2 separate regions of the Homo sapiens genome follow, and region 1 is linked to region 2. Evidence: promoter capture Hi-C in 16 types of primary human blood cells and fetal thymus (Javierre and others, 2016). All regions are on one chromosome and are shown on one strand. Each heading gives the region's core, a stretch centred on a gene start or on the middle of the fragment in contact. The rest is flanking DNA. Distances are from core to core; before and after follow the strand shown.

Region 1 (4,455 bases), core at 1,704-4,203, 1.2 Mb after region 2:
CCATTGATTCCCGGGGTATTTCTGGAAATGGAATTCATCAGCTATTTGCAGAGTGGGTTGAAATAAAATAATTTAGAATCCAGTGGCCCAGCTTTGGAGCTGGTACGGGGCTGGGAGCCTGATGCAGGAGCTTCTACTGTTTGTTTGAGGAGATGACTGATATTTTCTAGGTCTCTGAACAGCAACTCAAAGAAGCTGTGGCCCAGGCTGTGGAAAACACCAAGTTTGGAAAGGAGAGGCATCAGTGGAGTCTGGAAGGTAAGACAAATGGTGAACTTTGATGTAAAATATCTTTGCCTTCTTAGAAAGCTTAGGATTTATCCATTAACTCATCCTCTATCCAAGGAATAGTAACAGCATTTACCATAGACCAGCATAGTATGTAGACAAAGGCTGAAAACTAGCAGCCCACCAGCTAAATTTAGCTTATATTTTTGCTTTGTTTGGAAGACACAAGATTTTAAAAGCATCTGAATTTAAATTGCTACAAATGTGCCAGGCTCTCTCCAGCTCCCGGTGGTCTCCACCGTTCCCTTTATCCTGTACCAAGTTGCCATTCACACAATAGCCCCTGCAGGCACTTGAGTTTGCAGCCCCTAGTTTATAATAATAGAATATTAGAAAAACTAACATTTGGGAATATAATTCTGACATTTATTTAATTCTTATAATTCTTATAATAAATCAGAGACTATGCTAATTCATGCATTCACACATAATTTTTATGCAAATTTTATAAGAAAAAGTGAGGCCCTCAGAGACTCTCTTACTCAAAGTCATACCACTAGAGCACAGAGGCTCTGGAATGGAGATCCAGCTGGCTTGACTCCCATGCCTAGCCATTGGGCATTAATCACGTCTACCATGGAACATCCTTATGAAAGAACAACATGCAACCATTGGCACTGATATTGACAAGAAATTAAATGATCTGGGGAAATGTTCAGAGAAAAGAACAGAACACAATTTATTTCAGCTCTGGTTTATTATTTCTACCCACCCAACATGCATATATGCTCGGGAAAGCATGACAGAGAAACTCACCAAAATTTTGACAGTAGTTATTTCTGGCTGATAGGAACACAGGTGAAGTGAATTTTTACTTTCATTCCTTCCTCCTTGTGGCTGAGTTTTCTCTAAGGAGGATGCATTATTTCATGATCAGGAAAAAAAAAAAGAAAACTTTTTATTTAAAGAGAAAGTGAGTTAGGAGCTTGGCTGGCCTTGGTTCTCTCTCATGGGGCTCCTCTGGCTTTCTTGGTCTCTCAGAATGAGCTGGAATTTGAGCAAGAGACTAGATTTCAATCCTCTCCCACCCCTTCAAGCTGTGATTTTAGGAAAGGGGCACCCTTGACAGCTTACCACTAGAGAGAAGGGCCTCTCAAGGATGTGTGGGTAGCCCTAGTGCTGGAAACTAGGGTAGGGGGTACTGAGAACCAGGAAGGGCTAATGGGGAGGGAGGGAGGAAGGTGCAGTGGCTAAGAAATAGCGGCTTTCTGCCCTCACCTCACCCTCAACTGGAAAGAAATAGTGACTTCTTCGTGTAAGATTCAAAGTGCCTTGACAGGTAGTTTCTCTGTCTTTGTTATTGAGCCTCAAAATAACCCCAGTGACTTTAAAATTATCATCCTCATTTTACAGATGCAGAAATGGAGTTGGGTCCCCCAGGAAGCTGACTCTGAGATGGAGTTTGGTCTGCAGGCAGTGTCCTGGGGTTCACTACCTGTGGCAGGGAGGGGAGCAGGCAGGGTAGACAGAGGGAGGACGGAGCTGAGGTGCACACCCAACAGCTTCAGCCAAGCCCTGGAGCTCTGCAGCCAAAGTCCCCATTAGAGTTGTCCTATGTTGGCCAACATAGCTGGGCCTCTGTAACCCTATCTCCAGCAGTCCCTGGAGATGGGCTGCCCCATTGGACAAGGCAGCTGTCTGCAGCTGTGGCAGCCCCTGGAGGGACCCACAGCTGAAAGTAGTCTGCCAGCAGCACTCCCCACAGCTGGGACACCAAGCCCTTCCTCGATGGGTGATCTGGGTGGCATATCTCCATATACATCAGTCATAGGCTCAGAAAGCTTGAATGATTTTCCCAACCCAAAGTCATACAGCTCGCCAGGGACCAACACCAAGACTGCCATACTCCAGATCCACAGTGACTTCAGATAAGAAGCAGATGGCCGATGTGCAGTGTGCTGCCCGTGGCAGTCACAGGTGAGGCCAGGGGGTATTTCTGTTTTCTGAAGCTCAGCTGTGAAGATTCTCTTGTGCTTCCCACACAGGTGTCAAAAGGCTGGAAAGCAGTTGGCACGGGCGGCCCACCTTGGAGAAGGAACGAGAGAAGAACTCAGCACCCCCGCATCGCAGGGCTCAGAAGGTCATGATCCGCTCCAGCAGTGACAGCAGCTACATGTCTGGGTCCCCAGGGGGAAGTCCTGGGAGTGGCAGTGCTGAGAAGCCGTCCTCTGACGTGGACATCAGCACACACAGCCCCAGCTTGCCTCTGGCACGGGAGCCAGTGGTGCTTTCTATAGCATCCTCCAGGCTGCCCCAGGAGAGCCCACCCCTCCCAGAGAGCCGGGACAGCCACCCGCCGCTGAGACTGAAGAAATCCTTTGAGATTTTGGTGAGAAAGCCTATGTCCTCCAAGCCCAAGCCTCCACCCAGAAAATACTTTAAAAGTGACAGTGACCCTCAGAAGAGTCTGGAAGAGAGAGAGAACTCCTCATGCTCTTCTGGGCACACCCCACCCACCTGTGGCCAGGTAAGAGGATGGGTCCACAGGTTGAGTGTTTCCAGGACCAGACTCAAATCTTGAGCATGGGCAAATTAGCAAGTTAGTGTTAGCAGGGCCAGAATGAAAGTTTCTCCTGCTCCACCAGAGAGAAACTGTTGCCTAGGACTCAGCTGAGGACTGACCATGAAAAGATGGGTTTGAAGGTTGACAGATAATTGAAGTCCCAGTCCTGCTTGCTGGCATCTGGGTTCCCACCCATAACACACTGGAATTTAAGGTTCCTTTCTTGTGTCATTTTTCACTCACCATGAAGGAAAAATACCAGGGCCCCTGCAGGGTCTCAGTCTTTGCATGTGGATCTTTGAGTGTCCTGCTTGTAGGGAGAATAGTGGCTTAAATAACTAAAAAGGGGCCTGGCACGGTGGCTCATGCCTGTAATCCCAGCACTTTGGGAGGCTGAGCCGGGTGGATCATGAGCTCAGGAGTTCAAGACCAGCCTGGCCAAGATGGTGAAACCCTGTCTCTACTAACAATACAAAAATTAGCCGGGTATGGTGGCAGGTGCCTGTAATCCCAGCTACGCAGGAGGCTGAGGCAGGGAATTGCTTAAACCCGGGAGGAGTGGCTCCTTCCAAGGGCTATTGTGAGGATTAAAGGTAACCACTTAAGGCAAGTACCTGACAGCATCTCAGGCATATTAGCATTCATTGCCATGATCTTTCCCCATCAGGCCCCTTAAAGCCCTCCTTTCCACCCCTTGCATAAAAGGCAGACTGACTGACAGACAGCTGCTGTGTCTAGAACCATTTTATGCGCAGGCTAACCACACTGAGTACTTTCATGTACATTGTGTCAATTAAATCTTACAACCACCTGATGGTGAGAGTCCCAGTTGTGCAAAGAGGGAACTGAGAAACTCGCTCAAGTTCACATTGCTAGTGGGTCACAGTTACCCACTATGCAATGCTGAGTTTCCCATCCTTACCCAGAAGCTGTCTCCCCCATCACGGAATGGCCCTGCAGGGGCCCTGGCCCTTCCCTTAAGCACACCGTGGGCAGGTGGGAGGGGGCCTCTGGAAATCCCCTAAAACAATCTACAGTGAGGGTTGGCAAGCTTCAGGAGGGGTAGCGGTGGAGACGGGATGTTGAGTAGGAGGGGTGAAAGTGAAGGAGGGAGGAGGAAGCCAGGTTACTAAAAAGGAAGTGCAGTTTTGCAGAGCGCTGGCAGGATGTGGCTGGTTAGCAACACATGATGGAGTTATCAGATGGATCTGTTCTCCCACCCCCTCTTTTAAGCCCATATTTCATTTTCCCTTGGGCCTGAGACCTATGAGTCCAGAAGGGCAAATCAGGAGCAGCCAGCTGAGAAGCCAGTCATTTTGCCTTCCTCCTGGAGGCCCAGAAAAGGAGTGCAGTTGCCACAGCAGGTCTGTCCCAGTGATGCCCTTGGCAGAGCCACATAGGGTCAGGGAATATTCCCGAGTAAGGCGTCTGGAGAAGGAACTGGGGTGTCCTCAGGGAAGCCCAGGCAAGGAACTTCCCACAGGTCATCTTTCATGCCCTGTGTGCCTCAGCAGAATACAGGGCTCCCTCCTGTACCTGCCCCCAACAGCACCGTCTCCTGGAGACAAGGCCGTTCTGCAGCTGCCCTCCTCTGTTTGCTCTGGTCTGTCCCACGTGGCCAGCAGATCCTTCTCCCACAAACATTTCCATAAAAGCAATCAGCA
Region 2 (4,868 bases), core at 1,607-4,106:
TAGCCAGGCATGGTAGTTTGCACCCATAGACCCAGCTACTCAGGAGGCTGAGGCCAAAGGATCACTTGCAAAACTTAAGGGACACACAGTAGCTTAATGGTTGCCTAGGGGTGGAGGTGGGCCATGGATTGGGGGAAAGGGGAATGTGACTGCTAATAGGTACAAGGTTGTTTTTTTGTTTTTTGTTTTTTTTTGAGATGGAGTCTTGCTCTGTCACCCAGGCTGGAGTGCAGTGGCGTGATCTCGGCTCATTGCCACCTCCGCCTGCCGGGTTCAAGTGATTCTCCTGCCTCAGCCTCCCAAGCAGCCGGGACTACAGGTGTGCACCACCAAGGCTGGCTAATTTTTGTATTTTTAGTAGAGACAGGGTTTCACTGTGTTGACCAGTCTGTTCTCTAACACCTGACCTCAAGTGATCCACCTGCCTCGGCCTCCCAAAACCCTGGTATTTACAGGCATGAGCCACTGCACCCTGCCAAGGTTTCTTTATAGGGTGACAAAATGTTCTGAAACTGATTTGTGGTGATAACTGCACCACTGTGAATATACTAAAAACCACTGAATTGTATAATTTCTTTCATTTTTCTTTTTGTTTTTTCTTTAATAGGAGACAGAGTCTTGCTATGTTGCCCAGGCTGGAGTGCAATGGCCATGATCCCATTACTAATCAGCACAGGAGTTTTGACCTGCTCTGTTTTGGACCTGGGCAGAGTCCTCTTTCTTAGGCAACTTGATGGTGCCCCCCACCCTCTGTGGACACCAGTGGGTACAGTGCACTACTGCCCAGAACTCCTGGACTCGAGCAATTCTCCCAGCTCACCCTCCTGAGTAGCTGGGACCACCGGCATGTGTCACCGCGCCCAGCAAATTGTATTCTTTAAAAATGGGTAAGTTGTAATGATATGTGTGTTAAATCTCAATAAAGCTTGAGTTTCTAGCTTTAATAACTGGAAACATGGTGTCACCATTAGCCAAAATTGGGACTACAGGAGGAAGAATGTGTTTGGGGGAAAATAAGCCTTGGACATATTGAATGGCTGTGATAAGCACACAGTGAATGTCCTGCTCTGGAACACAGGAAAGAAGATGGGGCTGGAAATAATAATGCATACACAATCATTTATTGAGCATCTGTTACATACCAGGTGCTGTGAATATGTTGTTTATGTACACTGACCGGTAGGTTGCGTATGTATACTGTTTATTGTTTCTGCTCCCTCTCTTCCCCTGTGTAAGTCAATGAGAGAAGGGCCTTCATCTTTCTTAATGCTGTCTCCAGCACCTACAGCACAGGCTGGCAGAGAGTCGGCATATAGCATTTACTGGGTGAATAGAAATGCAGTATCTTTTAACCCTCATAACAATCCTTTGTGGTAGGTTTTCGTTCCCATTTCACACAATTTTCTTAAGAGCACAAAGCTAGTAAGTGACAGTGGTCTGTCTGCATTCCACGTCACAATGCAATACTATAATCTCTCAATCTCCCAGAACGAATCTGGAACAAAGGAAAGCAGTAAAGGTCATGTAAACCCAATTTCTGCAAATTCATAATAACTGCATATGAAAATCCAACTGGGTTAGGTGCTGGAGTTAATACAACGATAAACTGGACAAGAATCGGAAGAAAAATACATTTAAGACAAAATCCGTAAGACTTGACGCATAACCTTGCTAGTTCAAGAAGCTCTTTCACACATATTATGTTATTTAACCCCCACAAATAGCCTAACAAGTAGGTTTTATTACCATTCCAATCAGGCTTTTGTCCTCCACTTAAACTGTACTCCCCAAGGTGACTTCTGTGTTGCTAAATGCTCAACAGGTACTCACTTCAGGCACAACATTTAAGGGAGCACCAAAAAACTAAGTGATCAAGATGAATAACATTTTTATTTTTTAAAATTAAAATTAATGCAAAAAAAAAATCCATGAATAACAAAATACCAACATTTAAAATAAAGAGGATTCTCAGGACTGGGCTCGCCTACCTGGATGCCCTAACGGAACTCCTCATTCACAATAGGATTGAATGACCTCGAACTAAAGTGTCACGTACTTCCTGCTCGTGATGCTCGTGAGCCCGAACGAAGGCTGAAAAACTTCAGGGGGAGCCATTCTGCCTATCACCCCTAGTTCCAGCGCAGCAGCCCAGCGTGCACCACGCAGGTGGGAACTGACCCCGTGCTTTTGGAACAGGCTGGAACTGGGGGTGCTTGTGCCTGTGCATGTATGTATTGCACACGTGTGCATGCACGCTTCTCGTCTTGCTTCTATTTCCAAGTCCCAGTTCAGGACAGGGCAGAGAACTGCTTTCCAGTATGCGCCCTGAGCTCGGACTTTGCGCTTGCAGACTGAGGCGCCGGCCTGCATGGGAAGACAGAAGCTCAGAATTCCTTCCTGCACAAGTGGCAGGTGGAGTGCAACTCTTTTTGGTGCCTCAGTCCAAGACAGGGACACGCCATTCCCTGCGAGGTGGCAAAGGTACCTGAACCTACATAACCAAGCCCTTAAAGTCTCCGCGGCACCTCTTAATCGCCTTCCCGTAGCTATTGGAGGTAGAGAAACCGCGGCGGGAAGCGCCCCAGAGAGGGCAGTGGAGCAAGGGACACTGGAGGTGCAGAAGGCGGAGGAGCATCTCCTTTCGCTCCGCCCCGCCTCTTTTCCTGCCTCCGGCCAATTGCCGTGCGCTCCGAGCCTTGACCCCGCCTCTCCCCGCCTCCTCCGGCCTGCGGCCCCGCCCGCGCCGGTAATAATTAGCGGGCGGGCGGGGCCCGCGCGTCAGCCGCGGGAGCCGGCCAATCCAGTGGCTCTCCTCCGCGGTCGCGTCATAGGCCGAACAACCAAACAGAAAAGTTTAATAAACAGCGGACGGAGGGGCCGGCGGTGGCGGAGCCGGAGCAAGCAGGGGTTCGGCGGCATTACCTGTACCCATTCACCGGCGGCTACCGGCGGCGGCGCGCAGCGTGTCAGGCGGAGAGACCCGCCGCCAGGTGAGGAGCGCGGCCCGCGGGGCCCGGCTTGCCCGGCGCTGCCCCTCCCCCGCCTGCTCCCTTCCCCCACCCGGCTGCAGCTAGGCGAGGCCCGCCCCCGGCCCCTCCCGGCGCCCGAGAGCCGGAAGCGGAGGGCGGCCGGCCGGCGCAGCAGGTGGTGGGCCCGCGGGGGCCGCGGGCGAGAGGGCGAGGACTCCCGGCTCCGGGGGTGGGGGCCGGAGATCGGCGGGTTCACCTCAGACGGCGCGCGGGCGCCCGCGGCCGGGGGCCGCTTCCTGTCAGGGTGGTCGCGCTGGGGTCGGGAGCCTCAGTTCTTCAGGGCCGCGGAGGCCGCGACGCGCGCCGCCCCGAGCGGGTTGCGAGCGGTTGGCTGGCGGGGGTCGGAAGGGCCCCGGGCACACTGGGGCGCGTCAGTTCCCCGCCTCCTCCGAGTCTCAGGTCCTCTTCGGGATGTTTTTCCACCTGCGGCGTTTTTCAGAAACCAGCCGGAGGCAGCCCGGTGTCTCCAACTCCTGACTGGCACCGGGAAGGGAATTGGTCTCTTTTTTTCCTGCTTGGGTTTAGCTTGCTTAGGATTCTAAATTTTTTGTCTGCTTTTTTGAAATAGTTATATTTAAGTTTTAGCTACCTAAAAAAGTATGAAAGAATATTGTGTTTGAAATCTTTTTAACTTGGTTTTTAAGTCACGTGCTAACTATCCTACACAGTTGGGACGCTATGATTTACCTTCACATCTCGGAAGTTGTAACCAGTTGTGAGGAAGTTAGGACCTTGGGGTTACCTAAAGATAATTTATATTAAGTTGTTGGGCCATAAAAACTGGGCAGAATTGGCCACGCGCGGTGACTCAACGCCTGTAATCCCAGCACTTTGGGAGGCCGACGCGGACTAATCACGAGGTCAGGAGATCGAGACCATCCTGGCCAACATGGTGAAACCCTGTCTTTACTAAAAATACAAAAATTAGCTGGGTGTGGTGGCGGGCGCCGGTAGTCCCAGCTACTGGGAGGCTGAGGCAGGAGCATCGCTTGAACCCGGGAGGCGGAGGTTGCAGTGAACCAAGATCGCGCTACTGCACTCCAGCCTGGCGACAGAGGGAGACTCCGTCTCAAAAAAAAGCCGGGCAGAATTAATGATTTTGAAGCTCCGAGAAACAGGATTAAATTCCTCTTTCAAACCGAAATCGGAATTTGATTTTTTAAAAGTGTAAAATACCATAAACTTTTAAGGTTAGTTGTTCGGTAACCATGTCACCAATTTTAAGGCACTTTCTGAGTTGTGTATAGTTTCTCCAGAGCCCTAGGGGAAATGTTTTGCAAAATATGCACGTTTAGCTTTCCAAAACAAGTTGTCTTTTTTATTTTTACTTTTTTACGTTTTAAAATGTGTTTAAAGGGAGACATCACAAATGTGCAGGAGAAAATACAGGGGTCGGTGGATTTATTATCTTGTAGTGATAACTTTTTGGGTGTATGCATATGTCAGAACTTACACGTTTTACACTTCAAATATGTGCAGTTTATTGTCAACTATATGTCAGTAACGTTTTTAAGAAGTAACCAAAATATATTTAATACTACCAAAAAAAAACACGGTAAAGTATAAGCAGATAAAAACATCATAAATCCTTGATGACTCCCCCCAAACCCAAAACTGGAACATTACTAAAACTTGCATTTGTCTATGAGTTTCTTATCTGTGCAGTGGATTTTGTGTATGTCACTTCCTTGACTTTTTGAAAAATAGTTTTATCATATATGTTTGTATGCCGAAACTGTGTGGCATTTAATTTGTTTTTCTTTTGAGCTTTATAAAAATAGTATGTGGCTGTAGTTTATTTCATTGCTTTATGATATGTTAATCTGCCATAACTTATGG

The links. The method cuts DNA at HindIII sites, captures the fragments that hold promoters and counts their contacts. A CHiCAGO score of 5 or more calls a contact.
Region 1: a fragment that was not itself captured here is called in contact with the fragment with the promoter of ZFAND6 in region 2 in 1 of 17 cell types (total CD4 T cells); the score reaches 5.0 in total CD4 T cells.

Annotation. Positions count from the first base shown.
Region 1 is chr15:81,290,283-81,294,737 of GRCh38, forward strand. IL16 (interleukin 16) reads left to right here. Exons shown (of 19, transcript NM_172217.5): 11 at 171-258; 12 at 2,274-2,755. Among named protein-coding and RNA genes, the nearest start is that of STARD5, 32 kb to the right of the region's middle. RefSeq lists enhancers at 2,230-2,359, 3,172-3,690, 3,870-3,959, 3,990-4,049. The HindIII fragment of the contact is 1,773 bases long and covers 2,068-3,840 here.
Region 2 is chr15:80,056,820-80,061,687 of GRCh38, forward strand. It overlaps ZFAND6 (zinc finger AN1-type containing 6), which reads left to right and starts at 2,857. Exons shown (of 7, transcript NM_019006.4): 1 at 2,857-2,990. RefSeq lists silencers at 2,535-2,863, 2,560-3,429. The HindIII fragment of the contact is 4,474 bases long and covers 924-4,868 here.